3 separate regions of the Homo sapiens genome follow, and all the other regions are linked to region 2. The links are contacts of gene promoters, found by promoter capture Hi-C in blood cells and fetal thymus (Javierre and others, 2016). All regions are on one chromosome and are shown on one strand. Each heading gives the region's core, a stretch centred on a gene start or on the middle of the fragment in contact. The rest is flanking DNA. Distances are from core to core; before and after follow the strand shown.

The links. The method cuts DNA at HindIII sites, captures the fragments that hold promoters and counts their contacts. A CHiCAGO score of 5 or more calls a contact.
Region 1: a fragment that was not itself captured here is called in contact with the fragment with the promoter of SCG3 in region 2 in 1 of 17 cell types (neutrophils); the score reaches 6.3 in neutrophils.
Region 3: a fragment that was not itself captured here is called in contact with the fragment with the promoter of SCG3 in region 2 in 17 of 17 cell types (M1 macrophages, M0 macrophages, naive B cells and 14 more); the score reaches 10.9 in M1 macrophages.

The regions. Positions count from the first base shown.
Region 1 is chr15:51,806,801-51,809,500 of GRCh38, forward strand. It overlaps TMOD2 (tropomodulin 2), which reads left to right. Exons shown (of 10, transcript NM_014548.4): 10 at 1,620-2,700. The coding sequence ends at 1,654. Among named protein-coding and RNA genes, the nearest start is that of TMOD3, 22 kb to the right of the region's middle. The HindIII fragment of the contact is 2,147 bases long and covers 316-2,462 here.
Region 2 is chr15:51,680,170-51,682,869 of GRCh38, forward strand. SCG3 (secretogranin III) reads left to right here and starts at 1,334. Exons shown (of 12, transcript NM_013243.4): 1 at 1,334-1,668; 2 at 2,348-2,400. The coding sequence starts at 1,587. The HindIII fragment of the contact is 6,229 bases long and covers 1-1,639 here.
Region 3 is chr15:51,772,153-51,774,852 of GRCh38, forward strand. TMOD2 (tropomodulin 2) reads left to right here. Exons shown (of 10, transcript NM_014548.4): 4 at 1,560-1,682. Among named protein-coding and RNA genes, the nearest start is that of TMOD2, 22 kb to the left of the region's middle. The HindIII fragment of the contact is 691 bases long and covers 948-1,638 here.

The DNA of each region.
Region 1 (2,700 bases), core at 139-2,638, 130 kb after region 2:
CTTACATGTAATCTCCTTCTGTTTTTATCTGCACCAGAAAATGGGCACAAGGACACTGAGATTCCAAATTATGTTTGACTTCTGACTGCTTTGGTACTTAGTTCTAAATATGGATATGTCTGATACTTTGGCACTTTACATGTGATATAAACATGGAGCTACATTATGAAGTTTAAACTCACAGGTCGCCTTTTCAGTTAGCCCCTTCAGTTTTTCGTGTGGCCACTTGTTGCTGAGGATCCCTGGCATTTCTTCTGTTAGGATGAGGTGGGGCATGTCCTGATCAACCATAGCAAAGAAGAAAGGAACTGGGAAAGCTTGGTCTGAGGATATCCCAGCCACCTGGAGCAGCCTGGCAAAAGGACACCCAGGAGCAGACATCCATTTGGCAAGTGGTCAGTCAGTCAATAGCAGGCTTCAATCCCCAGTTTGAGGTTCAGGGACAGAATGCCAGATCTTGGATGGAGGAACTGGGCAAGGCGTTCCACCAGGTACAGTGCTGGCCTCAAGGAGGACTCAGATAGTGGGCAAGATAGAAGCTAAAGGTTAGAACGGGAAGGGGCAAATAAAGGTTAGCCTCCAATTCCTTGTCCAGACAGGCTTTGCCAAGACCCTGAGGCGTAGGAAAGGTGCAGTGTGTGGCATCAGGAAGCTGGCTGGACACGTGACAGTGCTTACCTGGGGGGTGCACAGGGTGAGGCCAAGGGACAGACAGGCAAATAGGGATTTGGGGAAGAGTGGAAGCAGCAATCAGAAGGCACCTAGGAAAAGCACATTGGGTCCACAACCAAACAATATAGAGACCAAAGGAAAACAGGCAAAATGAGAGGTCTGAAGAAAATGGACAGGGCAGCCTACGTCCAAGAAGCAGCAACTGTGGGCAAGAGCCTAGGTAGGAGCTAGGCTATTTAAAGTGGAGAGTTAGAGCAAGACCACAGCCAGGGCACCTTTTTGCCAAATCCAAGAAAGTTCAAATAGCCCTCTTCCCAGTGACCAGGAGAGCCTGCAGTTGGGAGAGTGAAAGGTGGAAGAAGAGGGTTGCAGGAACTGGGAAACGGCAGTCTCGGCAACTTCTTCGGTTCTAAACATCAGGTTAAAAGAACATTAATCTCTGAGTTTGCTTGCCAAGTGAATCACACCTTCCTGTAGGTTGATACTTAGAAGTTTTTATTTAGAAGAGTTTCAGAAACTTTGAACTATTTGCAGCTCCTTCCAGACTTCATCCCATAATCAGAATTAAAAGATTGTGATTGTGTTAACCTGAAGAGTTAGTTAAAGCCAGTTGGTGACAGAATTGCAAGTGCCGTGGATAAACGGCCATGAAAATAGTCAAAGTGCACTGTTTCACGGGTCTCTTCTGGAATTTCTATCCCATAGAAATTCGAAGGTTCTAACACTCGAGTACCCAACTATCAGACATATATGTATTTAAATGTAAATTCCACCAGACACTGGATGAATTTATCATTTCCATTGATTGTCATGGTTAAGTATTAAAATTTAAGATAACTGTATCCTCAAGTGTGTGAGATTGTCATCTTATGTGATTAATGTTGTTTATCTGGAATTTAAGGAATATCCCTTCAATTTGTCTTTTTGTTCCTTTCTTTCTTACCTAGTTCGTAAGAAGAGAGTTGAAGCAGACCGAAGGTAAACTTCCTTGAGGAGAAGTGAAGTTTCACTGTGGTATGGCCATTGAAAAACAAAAACTCTTCTTCTTCCCCATCAGGACCATTTTATCAAAGTTCGTTCATTTCCGTTAACCACATAACTAATAATTTAATTGTTATTCTTTTTTAGCACTACTTATTTATCTTGGATTTTGTAATATATGCAATTGTTTTATTTGCTCATGGGCACTTCTGGCAACTTGACAAATGGACCGATGCAGATTTTAGAGAGTGACGACATGGAAAATGAATTTAACCACTTTCTTATTGGGTTGTCTTGCTTTCTTACATGAACTTGTTTTTTTAATCACTGAAAGGAATTTAGTGTATAATATGTGTTTGTAACTGTGATTATGATAGAGGCCTATCTCTGTTTACATGCATAGCTTTGAGTTAGGCTAAATACATCAGAAGTGTTCTACTGACCACATAAGAAGTTAGTATTGCCAATCTTTCACTGCATGTGAAAATGTGACCAATTTAGCACAAATTCTCTCTTAGTTCCAGAAAAATCAGTAAATGCACATGCCCTGTTGATTGGAGATCAGTAGTGTCATCTTCATAAAGCAAGACAACATTATGACACTTTAAAACAGTAGCAAAGAAGTCTATTTATTAACCCACAAATGTAGCATCAAGCCAGACTCACAGGTAGCAAAATGAATTACACACCTACTTTTACTGACTATTCAACATAAATTGAATCTTTAACATGACTTTAAAGGCTATTTACAAAGCTGTTTTAAAGTTTTTCAAACATGATAGAAATTTTCTAAATTTTAGTAAGAGAGAAGCTTTTAAAACAGTACATTCCTGAATAAAACAACAATATTGTATCTTAATCAAGGCTGTCTGATGCAGATGATTGCATTTTTTGGCAAATTTTAGAAGCATTTATTGCTTTGTCTTTAGTGTAACAAGATCACTGGATTAAATATAAACATTCAGGTTAATTATCTAGATTTTTGTCCACAGTATATGATCCATCCAGACATTTGCAAACGTCAGGAGAAAAATGTGAATTATTTAT
Region 2 (2,700 bases), core at 84-2,583:
CCTTCATTCAGCTGGGATTTTAAAATATGACTTAATTTTTTAATGCAGTATACTGGGATAATAATGCTATGTTATTACTGCCAATAAAGAGTTTTTTGTTTTGAAGGAGCTGTTAGATTTAGAATACTCTTTAGATCCTCAAAGGAAGTATTTGAGTGACTTCCAAACTCAAAAACCTCCGGAGCAAGGGAGATTTGTTTGTCAGCTTGGTTGTTTGTTTGTTTTTAGGTACTTGAATAACTTCCTCCTTGAAAAGGAGGGTGCAGAAATCAAAGGCCTGATTGTGCTGAATCCTTCTCTTTGGTCATTATTCAGACTGGTTCCCAGCATGCCGCAGTCCAGAGGAAAAGGTCCAAGTTCTGTTTAAAAATCAGAGACTAAAGAGCTTACTCAGCATCCTGCTCACATTAATGTTGCTTGTTTTCATCATTTAAAGTCTTTTGATAGTTCCTTGTATACAATAACCTTAGGCTTCTGGGAATATTCTCAGAACATAGGAAGCACCTCCCTGACTTAGTAAAGATGAAAAATGCTTTTCATGACTATCCCCTCTCTTGAAGGACCCCCTGGAACAGCCAGGTCTTTGGGCATAATTAAATTCTGGGCAAGATTTTACAGAAATGCAGCTTCTTTTTTCTAATTTAGTTGTGTGGTGTGTGTGTGTAAAGTGGGGGAGGTTCCACTTGGTGGGGAAAGGAGAATTTGCCATTGCTGCTCGTCTACTCAGGACTGTTTCTGTTGTTGTTGTGTTTCAGCATCAGAGAGTGAGAGTGTATTGCAGCAATCTGACTATTTGGAAGACTGTTCCTTGAATTTCCCAATTCAAAAGCCTCGGTAGAGCTGAGGGATGCTTGATACGTCAACACAGACCACAAAAGGCAGGGCTTTTCTAAAGAGATTATAATTATATCTACCTTTTGGGTACAGGAGGTGAATGGAAGGAAGGGATTCTGGAGCAGATATCCCAAAAGAAGAATCCCGAAGCAGAACTCCTCGCACAAGGTTATCTAAATCTCCTTGACAGGTGCACAGGCAGAGAAGGCATTTGGCCCTTGAAGTAACATTTACTTGAGAGGTTGGGACAATTCTGTCACGCTTAGGACAAGCCAGCTGACCCTGAGCCCAGGAGCACCCTAGGACTGCAGCACAGAAAATACACCAGCTGGCCGGTCGCCCCTCCTTTGTTCCATTCCCGGGGGATTGGAGTAGCGTTGGAGTCACCGACGCCATCCCCTCCCGCCTCTGGCGTGCATGGAGCATGCGCTTCCTTCCTCACTTCCTCTGCAGGAGGGAGCGAGAGTAAAGCTACGCCCTGGCGCGCAGTCTCCGCGTCACAGGAACTTCAGCACCCACAGGGCGGACAGCGCTCCCCTCTACCTGGAGACTTGACTCCCGCGCGCCCCAACCCTGCTTATCCCTTGACCGTCGAGTGTCAGAGATCCTGCAGCCGCCCAGTCCCGGCCCCTCTCCCGCCCCACACCCACCCTCCTGGCTCTTCCTGTTTTTACTCCTCCTTTTCATTCATAACAAAAGCTACAGCTCCAGGAGCCCAGCGCCGGGCTGTGACCCAAGCCGAGCGTGGAAGAATGGGGTTCCTCGGGACCGGCACTTGGATTCTGGTGTTAGTGCTCCCGATTCAAGCTTTCCCCAAACCTGGAGGAAGCCAAGGTATGTGAACACTTTTCTTCTTCCTACCTTCCTTTTATTTCGCCACGAAAAGGTAAAGTTTGGCATAATACGTGAGCTGTAAATCACCCTGACGCGTTTTCTGATCAAATCATATCCATGAATACGGACAGAGAAATCAGTTCGAATTTAGAGACAGAAGACAGATTTTTTTTCTTCACTTTTAAAATGATAGAGCAATAATATGGGTTGTTTTTAAAGATCTTATTTTGAAAAGGGAAGGGAACCTTTTTCACCTAAAGTGGCTTGGATTGTTTTCTAGTTGCCTTACAACCTTTCTCAGACAGTCTATTCATTATATATGCAGTATATGATGAAAGAGCTTTTAGTGTGCCAATAATACCAATCCAAATTATGCTCTCTCTAGCTGAGAATAGCTGATAACCCTAGTGTTAGAACTATATGTTAAATTTCTGGTCAGAAAAAAAAAAAAGTGTGATTCTGTCAGCTCAAGAAATACACCAAGATAATAAACAAGGCAATATTGATAATTACTATTATTGTATAATCTTGATAATCTTTGTTAATATGCATTTGTTTCATAGTCATCCAAAATTATTTCTCCTAATATTTTTCCTTTTTATAAAAATTTTATTTAATAAGAGGCATATTTTGTCCTTCAACGCACAATTAAATTTATATTCACATGTGTTTATTCTAGACAAATCTCTACATAATAGAGAATTAAGTGCAGAAAGACCTTTGAATGAACAGGTAGGTCAAAAGTAACATTATGAATGCTATTTCATTTTGATTTAGTTATTATTATTTAATGTAATTATGCTGTGACATTTTGGTCATTTTGAATTTACAAACATCAGGAACTTAATAGTTAATTGACAGAAATTAGGACGGGAAATCTAGTTTTGGTAAATTCTATGCCCTAGCAGTTATTTACATTGAGTTCTGTATAATGAATACATAGAGTAACTATATAATAACCCAGTAAGCTCAGCATCACATCCACTCTGTTGTAAGATTGCCTAATTTACCAGAGATTTCTCTTTCAACAAT
Region 3 (2,700 bases), core at 43-2,542, 92 kb after region 2:
CATAGGAGTGGGATAAACCAGGCTAGCGAAGGAGACCTGGAGAGAACTTGGGTCCCAATGGGCGGAAACTGGAGTGAGATGAGCCTTTAGGGAACTCTACAGATCAAAATGGAAGAGAACAATTTCAAAGACTGTGCCCCAAAAGTCAGAGCAGCTTCAAAAAAGAGAGAAACAAAGAGTCAAAAGCTGGGAATAATTAGAAAGGAATATGAATGCTCTGGGGTGTTTTGATCATGGCTCTAGAATGTCCCTGGTGCACGTGTGGGATGTGGATGTGTTGGCCTGGCTCGAAGTTAGGAGCAGGAACTGTGCCATCCTCCTGGGTATGGCAATGTTATTTCATCAGTCCAGAAGTTTGAGCTGGGAGTTAGGGAATAGATATCAGCATTTTCAGAAGTGAGCAGGGGACAAAATAAATGGAATCTTGCTGATAGGATGAAATGGGAGATGGTGGCAGAGGATGCATCTGTGGGAAGCACAGAATGCCTTGCTGCTCACAGAACCCCACTAGCTCCGAGTATAGTGACCCTGATTTTTCCTTACAATCATGCCTGCTTTGGAGACTCTAGAGAGGTGGCTATGTCCCCAGGTCACTACACTAGCCCACCTGGCCCCAGATATGGCATGCTAGTTGTCTGCATTCCCAATTTAGAGGGAGCGCTCCAGGGGATCACCAGTTTGTTACTCAGGAACCCCTAGTGCTGTTTAGATGAACCTGCTCCTAATATTTGCAGGGTCCAAGGCAAGTATACAAATAGAAGCCCACATGCCACATTTTCCAAATATTTAAAAGCTAACAAATCATTAAAATATGTTGTATCCTCCTTTAGATATACCTAGGAGGCCAGTATTCTTGGACTTCCAAGAGTTCCATGCAGGGATATTGATCTGTCCCACACTGCCAGGGCCTCAAACACACATGTTGGACACCCAAGCCCACATATCCAAGCTTCATCCAGGCTCCCCCACAAATAGCCTCCCCTTGACCTGAGGGTACACACCCAGCAGCATGACCTGCCTTCTGGAGGATAGACATGGGAAGGGGCTTGTGGAGGCTCTAGAGGCAGGCTCAGGGCTCTTTGGGCAAGGCATTCCAGGGTCCTAGGTACCTGAAGTGTGGTATAGAAAGTGGCCTATATGCTGGATGGGCATATCCCTTTGGCCTCATGGTTCCTCCCCTGGAGGGGAGAGGTACAGCCACAGGAAGACTAGTATGGGGTTCTCTAAAGTGCACGACTCAGGGCAGGGCCTCTCCTGCCCAGACCCAAGGGCAGTACTGCCAATAAGAGGGGTAGAAGCCACCATTTCCCTCTGTGTTTAAGGACTGTAGTCTCAGATCTCTGTGTGGCAGAATGCAGGATTCCTCCTCCAGTGTTCCTTCCCTCTGACAGTGACTTATTGATGTTGGTACCATCCTGGCAATCCAGGAATCTCGGTTGGATATGAACTGGCTTAATTATATGGGTCTCAATGGCCAGAACTGCATTCTCTGCTCAGTCTACTTACCCTACCAATAAGGCAGTAGTACTCAATATTTTTGTTTTTCTTCTGATTTAAAGGGAGAGTCTTTATCCCTAAAGAAAAGCCTATAGAAACTCGTAAAGAAGAAAAAGTGACCCTTGACCCAGAACTGGAAGAAGCTTTGGCCAGTGCCTCTGACACCGAACTCTATGATCTTGCAGGTTAGTCCTGAACTCTGGGAACTTTCCTGTCTGGCTCTATGACCTCCGAGCATGCACTGGCACCCATGGCAGCAGGCTTTGAGCTTCTCTTAGGTAGGAGAATGACAGGTTGACACAAGGCATTATGGAGCTGTAAGTCTTGATGCAGGTGACTTAAACTCTCTGAGCAAATGTTATTTTGCTCTATTTCAGCAGCAAATAATACCCATCTCACAAAACTCAAGAGTTACTGTGAGAAATTAAAGCAAACAAGTATGAAGGAGTGTTGAGAATTTAGAGAATAAAACAACAGCTCTTTTGCTTTCTAAGGAGCTTTCACATTTGGCATTTTATCATCACAACATTTCTATAAAGTTCTTGTTCTTCCCACAGTCATTGTTCCATTTTGATTCAGAAAACGCTAAGAAGTCCATTAGCCTTCTAGTCTTAACAATAGCAACATGATAATAATTATTATTATTTAAAATGCAGATAGAAAAAGGTCAAAGAGTACAAAAGAATGTGTAATGAAAAGTAAGTCTCTCGACCTGAATTACCTAGGCCCACTCCCATGTCTTGTACAGCCTTCAAGAAAGATTTTCTGCATCTACCAGTAGATTTATATATTAGATCTTCCTTCTACATACACAGGGTTATTAGATGACCACAGGATAGAGGTGCTTTAAAAACCAGTCCACAGCTTTAGCAAGAATTTTTATTCCATTGGAAGACATAGAATAATAACCTCTTTCCTCCCAGGAGAACCAGCCTTATTCTAAAATGTACCAGCCACCCCAACTGCATTTTCATTCCTTCTGTGATGATGTCAGGAAGTTCCCATGTTTGTGAACTTAATATTGACCATATTGACCACTGCAGGAGTTGAGGCGATGGCGTCACCTGGTAAAGAAGGTGTTTTGCACCCACTGGTCTTAGCCCTGGGGTTGCTGTGGAGGGATCCTGTTATGGCTACTGCTCCTCCCAGGGGTTGCCTCATGGTCTCTACCAGAATTGCCCAGAGGGAGAATGCAGGGCTGAA